Linked DNA regions of Homo sapiens: region 1 is linked to region 2. Evidence: promoter capture Hi-C in 16 types of primary human blood cells and fetal thymus (Javierre and others, 2016). All regions are on one chromosome and are shown on one strand. The core of a region is centred on a gene start or on the middle of the fragment in contact, and the rest is flanking DNA. Distances in the headings are between cores, read along the strand shown. Region 1 overlaps ARHGEF9 (Cdc42 guanine nucleotide exchange factor 9). Region 2 holds the start of VSIG4 (V-set and immunoglobulin domain containing 4).

What was found. The method cuts DNA at HindIII sites, captures the fragments that hold promoters and counts their contacts. A CHiCAGO score of 5 or more calls a contact.
Region 1: a contact is called between a fragment that was not itself captured here and the fragment with the promoter of VSIG4 in region 2, in 1 of 17 cell types (M0 macrophages). The highest score is 5.7, in M0 macrophages.

The regions. Positions count from the first base shown.
Region 1 is chrX:63,750,907-63,754,711 of GRCh38, reverse strand. The region is part of intron 1 of ARHGEF9 (Cdc42 guanine nucleotide exchange factor 9); the gene reads left to right. LOC128031833 reads left to right here and starts at 48. Exons shown (of 1, transcript NM_001414729.1): 1 at 48-227. The coding sequence starts at 48. The coding sequence ends at 227. The HindIII fragment of the contact is 1,252 bases long and covers 988-2,239 here.
Region 2 is chrX:66,038,677-66,042,501 of GRCh38, reverse strand. It overlaps VSIG4 (V-set and immunoglobulin domain containing 4), which reads left to right and starts at 2,422. Exons shown (of 8, transcript NM_007268.3): 1 at 2,422-2,558. The coding sequence starts at 2,504. The HindIII fragment of the contact is 1,000 bases long and covers 1,926-2,925 here.

The sequences.
Region 1 (3,805 bases), core at 364-2,863, 2.3 Mb after region 2:
TCTCTAACCACCCTACTTCCTCCTCTCCTTTCTAGCATGGTGGCTGTATGGACAGTCTGACAGAACAGAGACTGACATCTCCCAATCTGCCGGCCCCCCACCTGGAACACTACAGTGTTCTGCATTGCACCATGACCCTGGATGTGCAAACTGTAGTCGTTTTTGCCGTGATTGTAGTCCTCCTGCTTGTCAATGTCATACTCATGTTTTTCCTGGGAACGCGCTGAATGGAGTCCAGCCACCTGAGCTGTCGCGAACTCTCGCTTTGATTTCATCCCGAGAGCCACCGAGAAAAAAAAAAAATCACAGACAGAGACAGGGAAAGAGAGAGAAAGAACAAGCTTTCTTACTCAGGGGGGAAAACGTTTTGAGCTTCAACATGGCCTCGCTGTGATATGTATGACGTTGGTATATTATCTCTCCCTAAATCTTTTGTCGTGTCTTGTCTTTTAAGAATGCCTGCGCGTATAGTTGCCTATTGCTTGAGTGAAATTGTTGATGAAGAAATGCTTTCTATTTAAGTGTGCATGCGTGTGTGCATTTTTAATCTATGTGGCGTTCATGGAGCAAGCTCTGCGTCCTTAAACAGTGGCTTTGCTGTCTGTGGTGTCTTAACTCATTTCCTTGAAGACTACCTTTAAACTCCATCAGGGAATTTTAGTCAAAATTTCTCTCTTGCCATCAGGAGTGCATTTGGGTTTGTTTGAGGGGAAAAGGGTTTGTGGAAGAGCATGATGAATATTTGACATCATAGGAAAGACAGTCTTTGCAGTGGATATTTAGAGGGAAAATAATCGATGCAAGGAATGGATTTAGGGAAAATGCTTCTTTAGTGTCTAAGGAGAAGCAAGAATTTGGGAAGTGACACGGGTGTGTTGTGCTGGCAGTTGGTGACTGTGTCCTTTGAATCTCAATTTGCTCTCCAGGGTTCACAATTTTCAATTTTGAAAGAAGCCACATTTAAAACACTTCTTGAACCTTAAAGCTTTAAGATATTTAAAATGTCAATTTCCTTGGAATCATGAAATAGTATGTGAAAGCATTCTCTGATTTTTTGAACTGGCAAGAGAGGACTTTGACAGGAGCTATTTGGGCTCCCTTTCCCAAAGATTGTACCCCTGGATTTGAGTTTGGGGATTTTGTTTGTCTCATCAAAAAAAAAAAAAAACCCCACAAGAAAGAAAAAACAGCTCTTTATCCACCTTGGGAATAATAGTATTTGGATATGGCTCCTTTGGGATAATCTCGTTTGCAATGATGTTCTTGAACTACATTTTAAATGTAACTTGATAAGGCTGATGAGAAAGTGGTGATGCTATTGTTTGCTCCCGTTTGTTACTTTAAGATCAGAGGTCTCTGTAATTGAAACATTCCCATAACAAACTGAAAGTCTGTAATGTGCTAAATTAAGAGTTATCAAATTTTGGTGCTAAATTTGACCACCAAAACCCAAAAACGTCTAGAAGGAAAGGGATGAGAGCATGGAAAACATGAGCTGGAAGCAACATTCCAGTTTGAGATATGACTGCTTGTCTGTATCAGATGGTGGTGGTGGTTTCTGTTGTTATTGCTATTGCTATTATTTTTATATTTCTGTTTCCTCTGAGAAAGCTCTTGGCAGAGCCAGGAAAAAAAATGTCTCATGCCAGTCTGTATAATACTTGTTTTTTTGCGTTTTGATTTTCTTTCTCCCCTGTTAATGTAGGCAGGCTTTCCCCATTCCATTGCTTACCTGGCTTGAAATAATGCCATTTATGGCTCATGTATTATAGCAGTGAATCAGGACACATACACATCTACACACATGCTCCCCCTCCACCCATGTGGGTGGCTGTTCATGTCTGATGTGCAAATCTGCTGGCATTATGCTGTCAAGTTCCATGTCCGGTTGTTCAGTCTCTTTGGAAATGATTATGAAAGGAGAGGGGCTGTGAAGGGGGCCTTTGAAATTGTCTTGGCCACAGGACCCAGAGAGTATTATTTAATGGCGTCAGAGGGTGTTTTGGGCCTCAAAGCATGCTATCCTTGACTTGGTGTGGGTGAGAAGCTGAGGTTTTTGTGAGATTAGTACCATGGTGTAAACATGATCTGGGAGGTTTGCTGGCATTGGTTCTTATTAATTACTCTTTGGTCCGTTTGTGGAGACCCCCTGGATGGAACTGAGAACCTATTTCTTTGCAAAGATAATTTAGTGAGTTTTTTTCCCCCCTTAGCTTCATTGTATTATTTAAAGTAAGCTTATATCTTTTCTGGGCACTTTGTTTTGATACAGTGTTGGAGAGTGGGGAATGGCTCTATGCTGGGCAGCTGCAGACCTGTTTTTTTGTTTTGTTTTGTTTTGTTTTTTGTTTTTTCCATTCAGCAGCTGTTTGACCTTGGACAATTTTTTTCCTCCTCGGTGGGTTTGGGATTCCCAGTAACATTGGCATTTTTTGATGGCTCCACTAGGTGACTTCCAAGTTCTTGCATTTTATGATTTTATGACCCCTAGACACTTGAAGTTGTGGGGGGTGGGGGGGATGAGCTGGAAAGACAAGTGAAAAGGAAAAGAAAATGTTAATCAAAGGGTGATGGGAGGAGGGGAAGGATATCTGGTACTACAGCCTGGATAACAAGTTTAAGCGAAGGGGTTTTTTTTGCCTAGTTATTTGGGAAGGAAACTGGGACAGCAATAAGGGAATGCTTTTTGACTTTTTTTCCCCCAAGGGGAGAAGGGGTCTCTGAGACTAGTCTTTGATCTAGGTTTATGACTTAAATAGTGTCACGAAATGCCTTCTCCTCTGTGAGCCTGACAGACCTTTGGCAGAAAGCCTCTGGGAATGTATGTGTGTGTGTAGGGTGTGTGGCAGTATGTTCATGGGGGTGTGTGGGGGGGAGCACACTCCTGAGTGTGGATGCGGGGTGTGGTGGTAGGAATGAAGAAAGACAGTATTGAGTTCCACAGTTCTGAATAGCCTCCTTGTGCTAGGACCTATAAGGATTTCACAAATGCTGGGATGGATGGGTATCACCCATGCCATTCCTCTTTTCACCACCTAAAACCCCTCAGGCTAAGGAGGTGTCTTGAATGAGCCCTTCCATTAGTAATTTAGCTGTTGAAATGGGTTAGCGCTTTTAAAATTGTCTCCAGGCAAATAAAGGGATGTTGCTAGCCAGATGGCAGGCCACCATCTAGCAACCAGAAGGGAATTTGAGAGTAGAGAACAAAAGGTAGCAGTGTGACTTTTTACTTGTGTGAATCCTAAAGGTTTGGCATTTCTGCTTCAGACTTGTGAGGATATTTTTCTCTAGCAAAAAGAGAAAAGAGTGGGAGAAAATGAGAAATGCAGCCCAGAGAAGCGGAACCCTATGCATTTTGACTTGTCTTCTTTTTTCCTTCCTCCTCTGCCTTCTCTCTTAATCTTTCTCCTTCTTCCTTTCTTCCCACCCCTGACACCACCTCCTCCTCCCACCTCCCCACTGTAAATGGGTGAGAAGTAAAAAAGAGAAGAGGACTTTTCCTCTCTGATTTGTCCCAACTTTTCCCAATAAAGCTCCTCCATTCCCTTCCCTCCTCTCTGGCCCCTTTGAGTAGAGGATAAGCTTTTGCCATGTAGGAGGGGCAAAATCCCAGCTTAGGGATTTTCGCTCCTGGATCCCCATCAAAGAATTAAAGAAAATGCCCTCTACTGGTATCCTAGCAACCCCTGTATCACTGAGCACCCACTGAGCTCCAGAGCCCACCCTTTAAAGGCCCAGGCACCAATAACTCTAGAAAAAGGGGACTAGAGCCTAGTGGGACTTGGAGAGATGCTTTTGGGGAGGG
Region 2 (3,825 bases), core at 1,173-3,672:
ACTTTACCTGGGAAGCCTTCCCACGCTACTATTTCCTTCACTAAATACTGCCCAAACCACAAGTTTTACAGCTCAGTTAATAATTCACCTTGTATTAGTGGTTCATATGTGTTTGTCTTTCCTTTACACTAAAATCTCACTTATACAGGGACCATACCTAACATTTCTTTTCTCTCCCTCACAACATCCAGAAAAGACCTGGAACTATTGTAGAAGTGGTCATTAAAGGTGTGAATGAAGCAGAATAGTGTGTTACTTAACAGTATCATTTCTGGAGGCATATAGCTAGGAGTTTGAATCTTGTCTAGGCACCCTCTATAAAAGTAAGTGATTTCACCATTCTGGGTTTTAGACACATTTGTAAAATGGGGATATATTGAATTCATTCATTCAACAAATATGTGGGCTCTACAATGAAAAAGAAAAGTAGTGTAAGGGAGTATAGAGTGGTAGGGAGAGATACAAGAGTATGTGCAATAATACCCACCTGAGGGGTTGTAAGAACCAAGGGAAATAACCCATGCAAGGTGCTTAATTCAGTGACTGGAAGAGTAAAAGATTTTAAATAGCAACTATCATTATATAGTTGTTATTGTATGTATAGTATAGTTTGATTTTTATAAATCTGAAAAGATACAAGCATCAAGTATAATTATGTTCATGTTACAATTAGGGAAGCTGAGGTTCAGAGAGATTTGACTTGTTCAAGATCTCAGAATGAAGTAGACACAGAGCCAGGCTTATCTCCAGGTTTCTGACTTCTCATCCAATTCTTTTACTAATCAAGAGGGCTACTGAGCCTACTGCAAGACTGGAAGTCTTTCCCAGCCTTGAAGTAATGTTGTGCATACTCCCCAGGACATTTATTTATCTTCAGATCCAGGAGGTCCTAATAAAATGCAAGAGGTAGCACAAAACACACAATCACCTGGCCAGGCAGAAATTTACATCTGTCCAGTGGGCTTTTTAGCGGGGAAGGGGAGGGGTGTGTGTGTGTGTATGTGTGTGCGTGTGTGTGTGTGTGTGTGTGTGTGTGTCTGTGCGGTGGTGGTGGTGTAGTGGTGATAGGGTGTTGGTTGAAAAATATCAAAGGAGGGTTCTGTGAAGTTCAGGGTTTCCTGAGTGAGGACCCGGTGGGAAAAAATGGCTGAAATTTCCAGTGAGATGGAATGAGTGCAGTACTCAAAAAACAAGGAACAACCAGCCAAGGGGGATTGGGCCCTAGAGGCAGAGGTGATTGATAGAATTCCATGTAATAATGTGTCCTGAAATGCTGGAATGTCTCCTTAGCCCGTGCACAGCTCCAAATCATCTGCATGCAGCCACCCCTTGGCAAGTATGTTTCTTTATATTCCCACTCCCCATCTCTGCACAAACTCCTCCCTCCCCTGACCAAGTCCTTTCCTATCCCTCCAATCAAAGAGTAAACTAAGCTTAGCTGTTACTTACAGTGCAGTATGAATTTTTGGGATGTATTTGTGCTTTTGAAAGTGCTTATTGTTTCAAAGCTTAGTAGACAAAGCGCAGTGCCAAACCTAGTTAGACTGCTGATGAAATTACAGTCACTCTGGGGCCTGTGAAGAGGAGCAATTTCTGGAGCAGTTGAGCTTTGCTAGGAGGCATAATATTACTCTCTTGTAGGTCAAGGGCCTGTACCAATTGGAAGTCAATGAAAAATTCAACCTAATACAGCATACCACTAATGGGCTGCTGCACTGGAGGCTAGGCTTAAATTTCCCTTAAAAGAAGTAAAAAATAAATTCCTTATGAAAAAGCATGGAGAACATTAATGAAAATGAATTCTCCCTTACCATCAGAGAGGTGGAGCCATTGTAGAAAGTGATTCAAAGAGCTTCCCCAATATGAGATATGAGGCATATTCACCCATAACAGCCTTATCCATTGGCTTGTCAATTATTCAAGCTTTGATGTGTAGAAAGCCCTTTAATACACTAAACTCTTGTACTCTTAAGCCCAAAAGCACCCCGGGCCCAACACCCTGTCCAGTTGCATAGGCTGCACAGGCAAGGGTTAACAGTACAACTAATGAAAATTGGGTAGGTCAGCAAAGTTGATCTCTTCTCCCTGGGCTCACCACAAAGGAAAACACCGCCATACTGGAGTGGGAAGACTCATCCCAAAGGTCGCCCCCACAACCTCTGAATCTTGTGGAGGAGACTCAAAATAAATACAGCCTAGGAGATCAAAGACCAGAAAGCCCCATTGGCTCCAAGGAAAGTCAAGTCAATACCCTAGCAGGGGGAAGAATTGCTTCACTCATCCTGGAACCTCCAACCCCAAGGAGGTGGGGGAAGGGGGGCACCCCACATGACCTGTACTGAAATAGGGAAGGAAGGGGAATGTGTGATGGGACTAGGAGTTTGAGTGAGAGATATAGGGAAGGAAGGGAAGTAAGCAGTCACAGACGCTGGCGGCCACCAGAAGTTTGAGCCTCTTTGGTAGCAGGAGGCTGGAAGAAAGGACAGAAGTAGCTCTGGCTGTGATGGGGATCTTACTGGGCCTGCTACTCCTGGGGCACCTAACAGTGGACACTTATGGTAAGGCAGAAAGGGGGGCCTGGCTGCCATTGCTGGCTTAGGCAAAAGGCTAGAGGGTTGGTGTTTAATGTCTACTATGGAAAGCCTATTCCTACTGGGCAGGTGAGTCTTCTCAGCCAAACTCTGCAGGCTCTCTCAGCCTTGAGCAAAACGGATGGATGTAGTTGAAGGCTGCTGAAGAAGCCAGAAGGCAAGTTTGGGCAGAAATTGAAAAAGGATTTTTCTCTTGGAAAACATCTGCATTATTTTCTAGGGCTTGTATCTCAGGGGCATCAAGAAGGTTCCCAATGACATCCGAATCTTTCCTCCATCTGCTGTCTCTCATCTAAAATTCTACAATTGGACTTAACCACTCTGCTTCCAAGCTTTGGTCTCTGTTAAAATATACAGCCCCCGAAGAAGGAGTGTTTTCTAAGAGTTGGATAGGACTATAGAAGTAACCTATACCACCCTTCATTGTCATGAATAAGTGCTCAGAAACATCCAGTAGTGATTGAGATTTCACTGTTCACTACCTCCCCAGACCATCTAGTCCATCCAGGAGCAGCTCCAACTGTTAGAAAGTTCTTATTTGTGTTGAACTAAATCCAGTTCCCTCTGACTTCCATCCAAAAACCCCAGCTTTGCTTCTTGGGGCTACACAGAACATAGATGCTTCCTTGCCCTGTGATAGCCCTTCAAAGCCCTGAGGACAAGTACTATGTCTCCTTGACTCTTCTCTCCTCCAAGCTGAACAGCCCCAGCTTTTTCAACTGGTCTTCATAGGACTTGGTTTCTTACCCATTCCTGGGATAACTCACTTCCCTATAGACATGGCTCAATTTGTCTGGGCTATTTATGGGCTGGATACAAATCCCAAAGGAGGATGGACTATTCCATAGTGGCATTATTTCCTTGGAGCTTGGGAAGCTCTATCCTCATCTACACTCCTGAGAAGTGAGATGGATTTTCAGGAAACTCAACCTGGGTAACAGCTAAGTGAGATCCAATATAGGGTAAAGGGGGATTTTGCTGCTTCCCTATCATCCCTAGAGAAAAAGGCTGGATAGGTGTTAGCTTGGTGTCACTTGTTAGGTCAGAAAGAATCCAGCTTTCCGTAGCTGACTCTGATTAGGTTACCCTATCCTGGGGCTCTGTGACCCATCACACTCTGGAACCTCAGAGTTAGAAAAGACTCTGAATTAAGTCAACCAAGAGAAAAAATAATTTGCCCCCAAGCCAAAGAGCATTAGTGGCAGAGTTAATGCTCCTGAAAAAACATTTTTCT